3 separate regions of the Homo sapiens genome follow, and regions 1 and 2 are each linked to region 3. The links are contacts of gene promoters, found by promoter capture Hi-C in blood cells and fetal thymus (Javierre and others, 2016). All regions are on one chromosome and are shown on one strand. The core of a region is centred on a gene start or on the middle of the fragment in contact, and the rest is flanking DNA. Distances in the headings are between cores, read along the strand shown. Region 1 overlaps LPO (lactoperoxidase). Region 2 has its middle 9.8 kb from the start of MPO. Region 3 holds the start of HSF5 (heat shock transcription factor 5).

Evidence for each region. The method cuts DNA at HindIII sites, captures the fragments that hold promoters and counts their contacts. A CHiCAGO score of 5 or more calls a contact.
Region 1: a fragment that was not itself captured here is called in contact with the fragment with the promoter of HSF5 in region 3 in 2 of 17 cell types (naive B cells and erythroblasts); the score reaches 5.8 in naive B cells.
Region 2: a contact is called between a fragment that was not itself captured here and the fragment with the promoter of HSF5 in region 3, in 1 of 17 cell types (neutrophils). The highest score is 6.5, in neutrophils.

Annotation. Positions count from the first base shown.
Region 1 is chr17:58,248,444-58,251,987 of GRCh38, forward strand. It overlaps LPO (lactoperoxidase), which reads left to right. Exons shown (of 13, transcript NM_006151.3): 5 at 617-734; 6 at 1,123-1,252; 7 at 1,972-2,178. It overlaps LOC124904038 (a long non-coding RNA gene), which reads right to left and starts at 641. Exons shown (of 3, transcript XR_007065862.1): 1 at 499-641. RefSeq lists enhancers at 341-906, 1,037-1,106. The HindIII fragment of the contact is 3,901 bases long and covers 216-3,544 here.
Region 2 is chr17:58,289,028-58,292,520 of GRCh38, forward strand. No RefSeq gene overlaps it. Among named protein-coding and RNA genes, the nearest start is that of MPO, 9.8 kb to the left of the region's middle. The HindIII fragment of the contact is 2,839 bases long and covers 825-3,493 here.
Region 3 is chr17:58,486,333-58,489,719 of GRCh38, forward strand. HSF5 (heat shock transcription factor 5) reads right to left here and starts at 2,076. Exons shown (of 6, transcript NM_001080439.3): 1 at 1,393-2,076. The coding sequence starts at 1,942. MTMR4 (myotubularin related protein 4) reads right to left here. Exons shown (of 18, transcript NM_001378067.1): 18 at 3,205-3,387. RefSeq lists silencers at 1,358-1,477, 1,738-1,787. The HindIII fragment of the contact is 13,387 bases long and covers 1-3,387 here.

The DNA.
Region 1 (3,544 bases), core at 916-3,415, 240 kb before region 3:
CCCTGCCCTTGCAGACGCCAGGGTGGATGAGGGTATGCGTTCAGAAGTGGGCATCTCTCTCCACTCTGTGCCCACACTGAACACTCTGATGCCTAAAGCCCCCCTACTCTGTCACTCCTCCCACAACCCTTGCCCCTCACTGAAAAATTACCTGTCCCTTCCCAACCTCTATCCTAGCTATGTCCCTGCTTGCTTGGTACTTCAGATGTGAACGAAGCTTTAGAAGAAAGCAGTCTTATCACACTAACTCATACTAACATATGCTTAACCTCCCGGGGTATTTCCATTCTAAAAGAAAGATCTGTCAATTCAAATGAATCTGGACCTGGTATACCAGGAATTACTAGCAATTCTGGGGACATTCCCAGTTACTCTGTGTGGCCTTGGGCAAGTCTCTTGAACATTGTGTTCTCATTTTCTTCCCTGTAAAATGGGAATAAAATGTATTACCTTAATGTGCTGTCAGATTAATTGAGAAACCACTTGAGAAACGCTTACTTAGAATGGAATGCATTCCAAAACATGCAGGTTCACCTCTGGTCTCCATTTCCTGCCTCCCACGGGTGCCTGTGAATGGAGAAAGAACTCAGTCCCTTTGGGGTCCCTTCTGTTTCAGATCCCAGCCTGGACTTGACTTCACTGTCTCTGGAGGTGGGCTGTGGTGCTCCTGCTCCCGTGGTGAGATGCGACCCGTGCAGCCCTTACCGCACCATTACGGGAGACTGCAATAACAGGTGGCGGGGCTTGGGGTGTGGGGGCCGACCATTCCAGCCACTCCGCCCCGCCCTGCCAAGGCCTTTGTCCCTTGGGCACTCTAGGCAGATCTGCCACTGCCTTGCCCACCTGGGCTGGCGTTCCCACCTTCCCCACCTTCTCAAGATCGCGCGTCTCCAGCCCTCTCCCTCCAGCCCACTGTGTGTCTCTGGAAGCGGCACCTTTCCCCGGGGCGGGGGAGCCCCGCGCCTTCAGGGGGTGGGCGCAGTTCAGAGACCCCAAATTTGAGAGGCCCCCTTCTCTGCGTCCCCTCCGCCTCGAGCAGAGGCTCCTTCCCCCATGGGGTCCTGGGCTTTGGAGCCCCGGAGCCGGCCTGCCGAAGCTCAGCGAGGATCGTGCTGGTTTCAGGAGGAAGCCTGCGCTGGGCGCCGCCAACAGGGCTCTGGCGCGCTGGCTGCCCGCGGAGTACGAGGACGGGCTCTCCCTGCCCTTCGGCTGGACGCCGGGGAAGACGCGCAACGGCTTCCCTCTCCCGCTGGTGAGGGCAGGCCGGGCCGGGGTGAAGGATGGGAGCCAGAGGGGACGGGATGCACTACCCAAACACGCAGTGAAAGGAGGAGGAGGGATCGGTGGGGGCAGCAGGGGTGCGCGATGGAGATCTGCACAGACCCCCACCTTCCGCTAGAGGGCAGCAGAGCTCGGAGCCCGGAGCCCGGCCACGTGGCGGTCACGTTCTGGCCGCCGCAGGCCAGATACCCTGGGGTCTCCCGGGCAGATGGCCTCCCTGCCCCATCCCGCTCGCACTTACCCCAGCCCCCGCCCCTGGAGTGCATCAGCTGTTGTTTGCCTGGAGGTCCTATTTGTTGGCCTTATCGAGCTGGCAGCCCCTACCCAGAGCCCCTCTCCTATTCCTGGACACCTGGCACCTCCGTAGCTCGCATTTCAGAGGCAGCCTGTCTTTGTTTTCCCTCTCTTAGTGGAAAGGGCACCGGCTTGGCAAATCATCAAGTCATACGGATCTGGGTTCAATCCCATCCCTGTCCCTTTGTAGCGGCAGGACCTTGGAGAACTGACTTCACCTGTCCAGGATTCAATCTCCCCCTCTACAGAATAGGCTAATGCCACCCACCTCACAAACTCCTTGTAGGGATTAAGTGCACTTGTAACATGGTAGGTAGTTAATAAGCTGTAGTTGCATCTGAATCCTCAAAGCACTTTTTCCTCTAATCTGCCCTCCCCTTCTCTCTCCATCTGTAGGCCCGGGAGGTATCTAACAAGATTGTTGGCTATCTGAATGAGGAGGGTGTTCTGGACCAAAACAGGTCCCTGCTCTTCATGCAGTGGGGTCAGATTGTGGATCATGACCTGGACTTTGCCCCTGACACCGAGCTGGGGAGTAGCGAGTACTCCAAAGCCCAGTGTGATGAGTACTGTATCCAGGGAGACAACTGCTTCCCCATCATGGTACGGCCCTGCAGCTAGGCATCTCTGACTAGCCCCTTGCCCACCCTGATGTAGCAGACATTCCCAGCTCATCAGCTAGGATCTCTGGATAGATCTGGGATACTGATTTGGTAGTTTCCCATGCCTCACGTGTCCATTCGTTCACTCATCCGTTTATTCAGTAAATAGACATTGACCACCCCATACCAGGCAGTGCACTAAGCGCTGAGGATTCCAAAGTGAACAGGACACCGCTCCTGCTCTCAAGAACAAAGGGCCAGTGTGGGAATTGGACAAGTAAACTACTGATAGCAGAATGGGAACACTGGAGAAGGTTGTCTACATTCCCGACCCAGCAGCATTGGTAAAACCTGCTTATTAGAAATGTAAAATCTCAGTTGGGCGAGGCGGCTCATGCCTATAATCCCAGCACTTGGGGAGGCTGAGGTGGACAGATCACCTGAGGTCAAGAGTTTGAGACCAGCCTGGCCAACATGGTGAAACCCCGTCTCTACTAAAAATACAAAAATTAGCCTGGCGAGGTGGCACATGCATGTGGTCCCAGCTACTCAGGAGGTTGAGGCAGGAGAACCGCTTGAACCTGGGAGGCGGAGGTTGCAGTGAGCCGAGATCACGCCACTGCACTCCAGCCTGGGCAACAGAGCAAGATTCCAACTCAAAAAAGAAAAAAGAAAAAGAAAAAAAAAATGCAAAATCTCAAGTCTCACCCAAGATGTTAGGAAATAGATTCTACATTTTTACCAAGATCAACAGAGATTCATTTTATACATGATAAAGTTTATACTGCTGTACATCATCGTGGAGGATGACTTCAACTCCACTCAGAAGGACTTGAAACCTGGATGAATCCGAGTGAGCAGCAGGGATTTGTAGGGATTTCCATCCGGAAGGGAGAGGAGCTTGCAGCAATGCATCTTTTCTTATTATTCATGGGTATTACAGTTGGAGAGTCATTTCTTCACTCAAAGAATAAATCGAGGCTATGTGCTGTGGTATAAAGAGCATAAACTGTGGAATGAAGCCAATGATCTGAATCCTACATCTTTCCCTTCCAGTGTATAAGTTCTTAGGCAACTTACTTAACTTTTCTGAGCCCCAGTTTTCTCATCTATAAAATGGAACTGAATTGTCCACCTTACAGGGTTTTTTTGAGGACTGAGATGAGTTAAAGTATGCATAATTCCTGGCACATGGTAAGTCCAAAATAAATACATGGCAGCTGTTGTTAGTAGTAATTATTAACAAACCTGTTCCCACCTCGTGTCCTGCTTTCCTGTCCAGGGAGCTCAATACTCCCTCCTCACCAGAAATTTGGAGCCCTCACTGTGAGGACTGAATGATTACCCTCAGTTCTTTCACACAACAG
Region 2 (3,493 bases), core at 994-3,493, 200 kb before region 3:
ACCTTTCTAGAAAGGTTAGAGTCTCTATCTGATGAAGATACAATGGTTTGTTTGTTTGTTTTTAGACGGAGTTTCCCTCTGTCACCTAGGCTGGAGTACAATGGCATGATCTCAGCTCACTGCAACCTCCACCTCCCGGGTTCAAGCAATTCTCCTGCCTCAGCCTCCCAAGTAGCTGGGATTACAAGCATGTGCCACCATGCCATGCTAATTTTTGTATTTTTAGTAGAGGCAGGGTTTCACCCTGTTGGTCAGGCTGGTCTCAAACTCCTGAGCTTATAATCCACCCGCCTCAGCCTCCCAAACTGCTGGGATTACAGGCGTAAGCCACTGCGCCTGGCCAAGATATAATTTTTTTAAAGAGTGAATTTTCGGCCAGGCATGGTGGCTCACACCTGTAATCCCAGCACTTTGGGAGGCTGAGACAGGCTGATCACAAGATCAGGAGTTTGAGACCAGCCTGGCCAACATGGCGAAACCCCTTCTCTACTAAAAAATACAAAAATTAGCCTGGCATGGTGGTGCGCACCTGTAATCCCAGCTACTCGGGAGGCTGAGGCAGGAGAATTGCTTGAACCCAGGAGGCAGAGGTTGCATTGGGCTGAGATTGCGCCACTGCACTTCAGCCTGGGCGACAGAGCAAGACTGTGTCTCAAAAAAAAAGAGTGAATTTTCAAAATTTTTTGGTTTTAAATTTGGTTTTCAAATATGTTTAGGTCAGTACTGTAAAAGTTAAGACAAGTTAAATTCTGTGATTTTACAAATGCTTAATGGTTTTGCAGTTACTCCACCCTTTATACTTGTGGTTATTTGGGGAGGGGGTAAGCTTCCACGAGTCAAAGTTCTACAAAAGACACTAAAAATAAGAAACATTAAACTCAAAGAACAAGAATTAAACAGCATCTTCACCAATAAGATTAGTTAAAATAGAAAAGACTGATAAACCCAGTGCCAGTCAGGATGTGAAAAAAAATAAGCGTAGCTTGGCCCCATGCCATGGGATGGCAATCTGACAATGTCAGTCAAACTCCAAAGTGCTCTGACTCAGCAATTCTACCTTCAGGTAGGAATTTATCTTTCAGACACATTCTTAGGAAAGCATAAAGATACCTACACAAGTGTGTTCATTTCCGCCTCATTTGCAACAACCAAAAGACTGGAAGCAAGCCAAATGTCCATCAGAAAAGTTTTGCCAGGTTGTGGTATACCCTGGTAAATGTGTTTTATGCAGCCTTTAAAACAGAGGGAGATCTATTTGTAGCAAAATGGCAAGATTCAACCTGAGAAAACTGATTGGGAAAAAAAAAACAAAGAAAAAGAACAAAATGGCAAGAAATGTTACCAAAAGAAAATAACTAGTTACAAAACATTATATATAGCATGTTGCAATTCATACAAAACACACAGACATACATACACGCATAGGCACCACACACATGCACACAGAAGTGTTTACATACACATAAAGATTCTGAGAGCAGGCACAAAAGCCTATTTACAGTGGTTACATCTGGGGAATGAGCTGAAGGGGCTGAGGAACAAGACCCTTTTGCTTCATCCTCAGTGCTCTTCTCAAAGTTTTACAAGGAAAATATAATAATTTTATCATGAAAGAACTAAAAATCTCTCCCTCACCACAATTATGCAAAGTAGCAAACTTTGGTTTTACTTAATCAGTAGGTTTGGATTACTTTTACACTGGCTTGCTAATATGAAGCCAGACACTAACAAAGATTGAAATGGTAGCATTGGGCCAGCGCGGTGGCTCACTCCTGTAATCCCAGCACTTTGGGAGGCCAAGGCAGGTGGATCACTTGAGGTCAGGAGTTCGAGACCAGCCTGGCCAATATGACAAACCTCCGTCTTTTTTTTTTTTTGAGACACAGTTTCGCTCTTGTTGCCCGTACTGGAGTGCAATCGTGCGATCTCGGCTCACCACAACCTCCTCCTCCCAGATTCAAGTGGTTCTCCTGCCTCAGCCTCCCGAGTAGCTGGGATTACAGGTACACAGCACCATGCCCGGCTAATTTTTCTGTATTTTTAGTAGAGATGGGGTTTCTCCATGTTGGTCAGGCTGGTCTCGAACTCCCAACCTCAGGTGATCCGCCCATCTCGGCCTCCCAAAGTGCTGGGATTACAGGCATGAGTCACCGCACCTAGACCTCTGTCTTTACTAAAAATATAAAAATTAGCCAGGCATGCTGGCACACACTTGTAATCCCAGCTACTCAGGAGGTTGAGGCATGAGAATTGCTTGAATCTGGAAGGCAGAGGTTGCGGTGAGCCGATATTGAACCACTGCACTCCAGCCTGGGTGAAAGAGTAAGACTCTGTCTCAAAAAACCGAAACCAAAAACAAACAAACAAACAAAAACATTCTTTGCAAACTAAGAAGAAAAGGAACTTCCTCAAGTCTGACAAAGGATATTTACAAACAAAGATATCACTAGCGTGATACTTAATGGTGAAAGACTGAATGCATTCTCCCTAAGACTGGGAATGAGGCAAGGATGTCTGCTTCTGCCGTTTCTATTCAGCATTGTATTGGAGAGTCTGTGCTGTACAATGAGACAAGAAAAGGAAATTAAAGGGATCAGAATTTGAATTGTCTTTACTTATATACAATATGATCACATATATACACACACACACACAGATACACACACATATATATATATGATTCTAAGGAATCTACGTAAAATCTAGTAGAATCGGTAAGTGAGTTTAGGAAGGTTGCAATATAGAGGGCCAAAATACAAAAATTAGCTGTGTTTCTATATACTAGCAACAAACAATCAGAAATTGAAATAAAAATAACAATACCACTTTCAATTAAGCATCGAAAATATGAAACACTTACGGATAAATCTGACAAAAGATATACAAGATTGATACTGAAAACAACAAAACATTGCTAAGAGAAATTAAAGGAGACCTAAATAAATGGAAGGATATAGTTTTTGATAGGTAAACAGACTCTATACTGTGAAAATGTCAATTCTTCCCAAATTGATCTATAATTCAATGCAATCACAATCAAGATATTAATAAGAAGCTCCAGTTCTAGGTAAGATGGAATAAACACATTCCACACTGTCTGTCTCTCTCACAATGAATGCAGCTATAAATTTTGTACAGAATGCATGGAGCAACTATATGAAGACTCTGAAAGTAAATCAATGCAGGCAGACTGAAGAAGAATAATATATTTGAATATACCACCCAAGTAGCAGTGAGTTTACTGTATTTTTTCCTCTGGTATCCCCCAACCTGAACTCAATGCAGCCCAAAACCCAATATGGGCATCTATGGGGCAGAGGGGGCTCCAGGAGAAAACTCTCTGGATCCGACTTAAGGTGCAGGAAAGAGATCTCCTAATGTTCAGAGAGTACAGAGACCTCCCACTTTTCTCTTTTCCTTTTCTCCATTATCTTGCACCCCAGTTCCAAGCAATCCTTGGAAATAGTGGCAGCAGCAGGAGAAGGGGCCAGAA
Region 3 (3,387 bases), core at 826-3,325:
CCAGCCTGGGTGACAAGAGCGAAACTCCGTCTCAAAAAAATAAACAAATAATAAAAAATAAATAATCCACTATCACAGAGGGTTTCTTAACTTTTACTAAATACAGATGTATACCAAAAAGTTTTTTCAATACTGAAAGATTGTAGCCAATAGTGAAAACTCCAAAGGCTGTAAATGTGAGCTTTCTAAAATTCTTTTTTAACTAAAACTTGACAGCTGTAAAGAAAACCATCTTTGCCTTATGTTTGTCTAATCATACCCCTTTAAGGAAGCATCAAGCTCTAATTTGCTTCAATGAAAGAAATGTGTAGCCAATTCATTCTACATAGGAACTATATCTTGTAAGCCACGATGTATCGTTGTATTTTTGCTCTTAAGGTATATAAACAACGTCTACCATTCTACACATTAACCAGAACCTTAAATCTGATGATTGTCGTAGCACTTCTAAGATTTCTTAGATGTGCCAATAGGTGGAAGGTGGCAGCCCTCTTCAAGGACAAATTTCCACTGCAGGCACCTTTTCCAAAACTTTCCCTTGCCTGCTATTGTAATGTTCTAAGTTCTCTCTTTTTTTTTTTTTTTTTTTTTTTGAGACCGAGTCTCGCTCTGTTGCTCAGACTGGAGTGCAGTGGCACTATCTCGGCTTACTGCAACCTCTGCCTCCTGGGTTCAAGCGATTCTCCTGCCTCAGTCTCCTAAGTAGCTGGGATTACAGGCGTGCACCACCATGCCTGGCTAATTTTTGTATTTTTAGTAGAGACGAGGTTTCACCCTGTTGGTTAGGCCGGTCTCAAACTCCTAACCTCGTGATGCACCCGCCTCGGCCTCCCAAAGTGCTGGGATTACAGGCGTGAGCCACCACGCCCAACCGTAATGTTCTAAATTCTCTTGACTACGATTTTGTTCCATCCCGCCTTAACCCGTAGGGTGACTCCACTCTGCTTCCCACGGGAGCAAAGGAGCCCCTTTTGTTTCTTCCAGACCCAATGTTTCAACGAAGGACTACTGAGTCCACATGTTTACAGTGGACAGTGTGGGTCTCAGGAAGGTAAACGGAGGCTTACAACCAGGTAAACTCCTGGGGTTCAAACCGGGGACGAGTAGAAGGGAGCCTAAGAGGCGGAGGTCCCTTTTGCTGCCAGTGGGCTCAGAAGGGGCCGAATGCTTACGGACCCTCCAGGGGAGGGCCGGTGGCCACCGTGCTGGTGCCGCTGAGAACGGCGGCGGTGGCGGGACCGCCAGTCTCGGGAAGCACAGCGGCCAATGGGTCCCCGGCGCCTTTCCGACGCCCATAGCGTGAGGACGTGCGAAAATGCGCCCTCCAGCGGCGGTTGCTCCCCGCCGCCCATGTGCCCACTGTGGGCGAGGGCACGGGCAGTCCGGACTCACCGTGCGGCTCGGGCCGGGGCCCCGCGGGCGGCGGCGGCTGCTGGTGCTGCAGTGGCGCGGTGGCGGCGGAGGCCGAGGTGATGAGCAGCCGCTGGAAGCGGTTGGGCGGGCGGCAGGGCACCTCCAGGCCGGCCGCCAGCTTGGCCTTGTTGGCGCTGGTGAGGCGCTTGAGGTGCACGAGCAGCTGTGGCTGGTCGCGGCGGAAGTGCGGGTTGTGGAAGTGATGGAGCGGCCCATTGCCTGCCGGTTTGCCGCCCCCCGGCCCGCCCAGCACCACCTTGCGGAAGCCGTAGAGGTTGAGCTGGCGGATGAAGCTGGTGAAGCTGGTGGTTTTGAAGAGCTCGGGCTCGGCCCCGGCCCCCGCAGTCCCGCCACCGCCCCCCGGCCCGGGCGGGCTGAGCAGCTCGGCCTCGAAGAGCGGCTGATCGATAAGCAGCCCCTCGCCGCGGCCGTCCCAGCGGATGGAGCGGTAGCGCGGGCTGTTCACCAGGCGCCACAGCTTGGCGGGGAAGTTGTTGGGGTTGATGGGGGTGGAGAGCAGCGCCTCCATCGCCCCGCCGGGCCGGGGCCTCGCCCCCCGAGCCTAGCTCTCCCACACCGTTCTCGATCCCTCCCCGGCCTTCGCCTCGCCCTGCCCGCTCCTGCCGGCGCCCATCCGCCGCGTACCAGGGACCGTTGGCGCACGAGGCCCCGCGGCGCCTCCCAGCGCGGCCAATGGGGCCTCGAGTTCCCGCCACGCGGCGTGGGCACCTCCCCCTCGGCGGCCGCGTGCCCCAGCTCGGCCCGCCGGACGCCTGCGGGACCCGGGCAGGAGCCCCTTCCCCAGGCGTTCCCAGACTTCAGGCCGGGAAGGCTGTCTGCCGGGGTGTTCTAAGTCCTGACAAGAGAGAAGCCCAGTTATCCACCGTGGAATACCAAGAGGCGTGTGTTTCGGCCCAGCCAACTAGTGGAGACTTGGAATGCAGAGAAAGTGTGCGTTAGGCAGCAGAGTTGGTCGTTCTGGGGACCAAAGGGTCTGGTCTGTAATCTTTGCTAACAGTGGAACTGCTTACCTCTCAAACAAAAATGATGCTACTGGAGGTATAATATCTTGAGTAAACGAACTCACCTTTTAGATAGTAGCCCTTTGTATCTTTTAAGATACACTCTTTTAAGTCAGTATTTGTTCAAGACAATTTACTCAAGGTTAGATGAAAACTGAGGTCCCTAGGAGGAGGGAATCACAAGAATCTAAGTACTATCTTGTGTGCCTGCCCAACTAGCTGGTGGCATTTTAGACATTAAAGAGAAATAAAGATGGGACAGAATTCTACGGTATCCATAAGAATCGATCCCTAGCCAATCAATAAATAAGAATGTAACAAGAGCTGTGCTGATTCAAAAAGAGAGGTTCATTTGAAAACGGAAATTGGCCGGGCGCAGTGGCTCATGTCTGTAATCCTAACACTTCGGGAGGCCGAGCTGGGTGGACTGCTTGAACCCAGGAGTTCGAGACCAGCCTGGCCAACATGGTCAAACCCTGTCTCTACTAAAAATACAAAAATTAGCCAGCGTGGTAGCATACCTGTAGTCCCAACTGTTCAGGAGGCTGAGGCAGGAGAATCGCTTGAACCCAGAAGGCGGAGGTTGCAGTGAGCCGAGATCGCACCACTGCACTCCAGCCTGGGGAACAGAGGGAGACTCCATCTCAAAATAAATAAATTGGAAATTGCTGGGAGAAAGGGGTACAATGTTCTACTCTTCTCATGGTCAAAGAATAAGTGAATATTAAGTTTTTTTAGAAATGAAAATAAAACGACCCAACAAAGCAGCACTAATATAGAGATTTTATTTAAACTGTATTGAATTTTTACAGCACATTGCATGTTTGTCACAACGCAACTGCACAGTTTGGATTTTTGGCCACATCATGTCACTTACACCCACAACAGCTCTGAAAGGAGTATTTGATGAACACATCTGAGCCAAGAGCCCAGAGTCTCTCTCCAAGGCCAT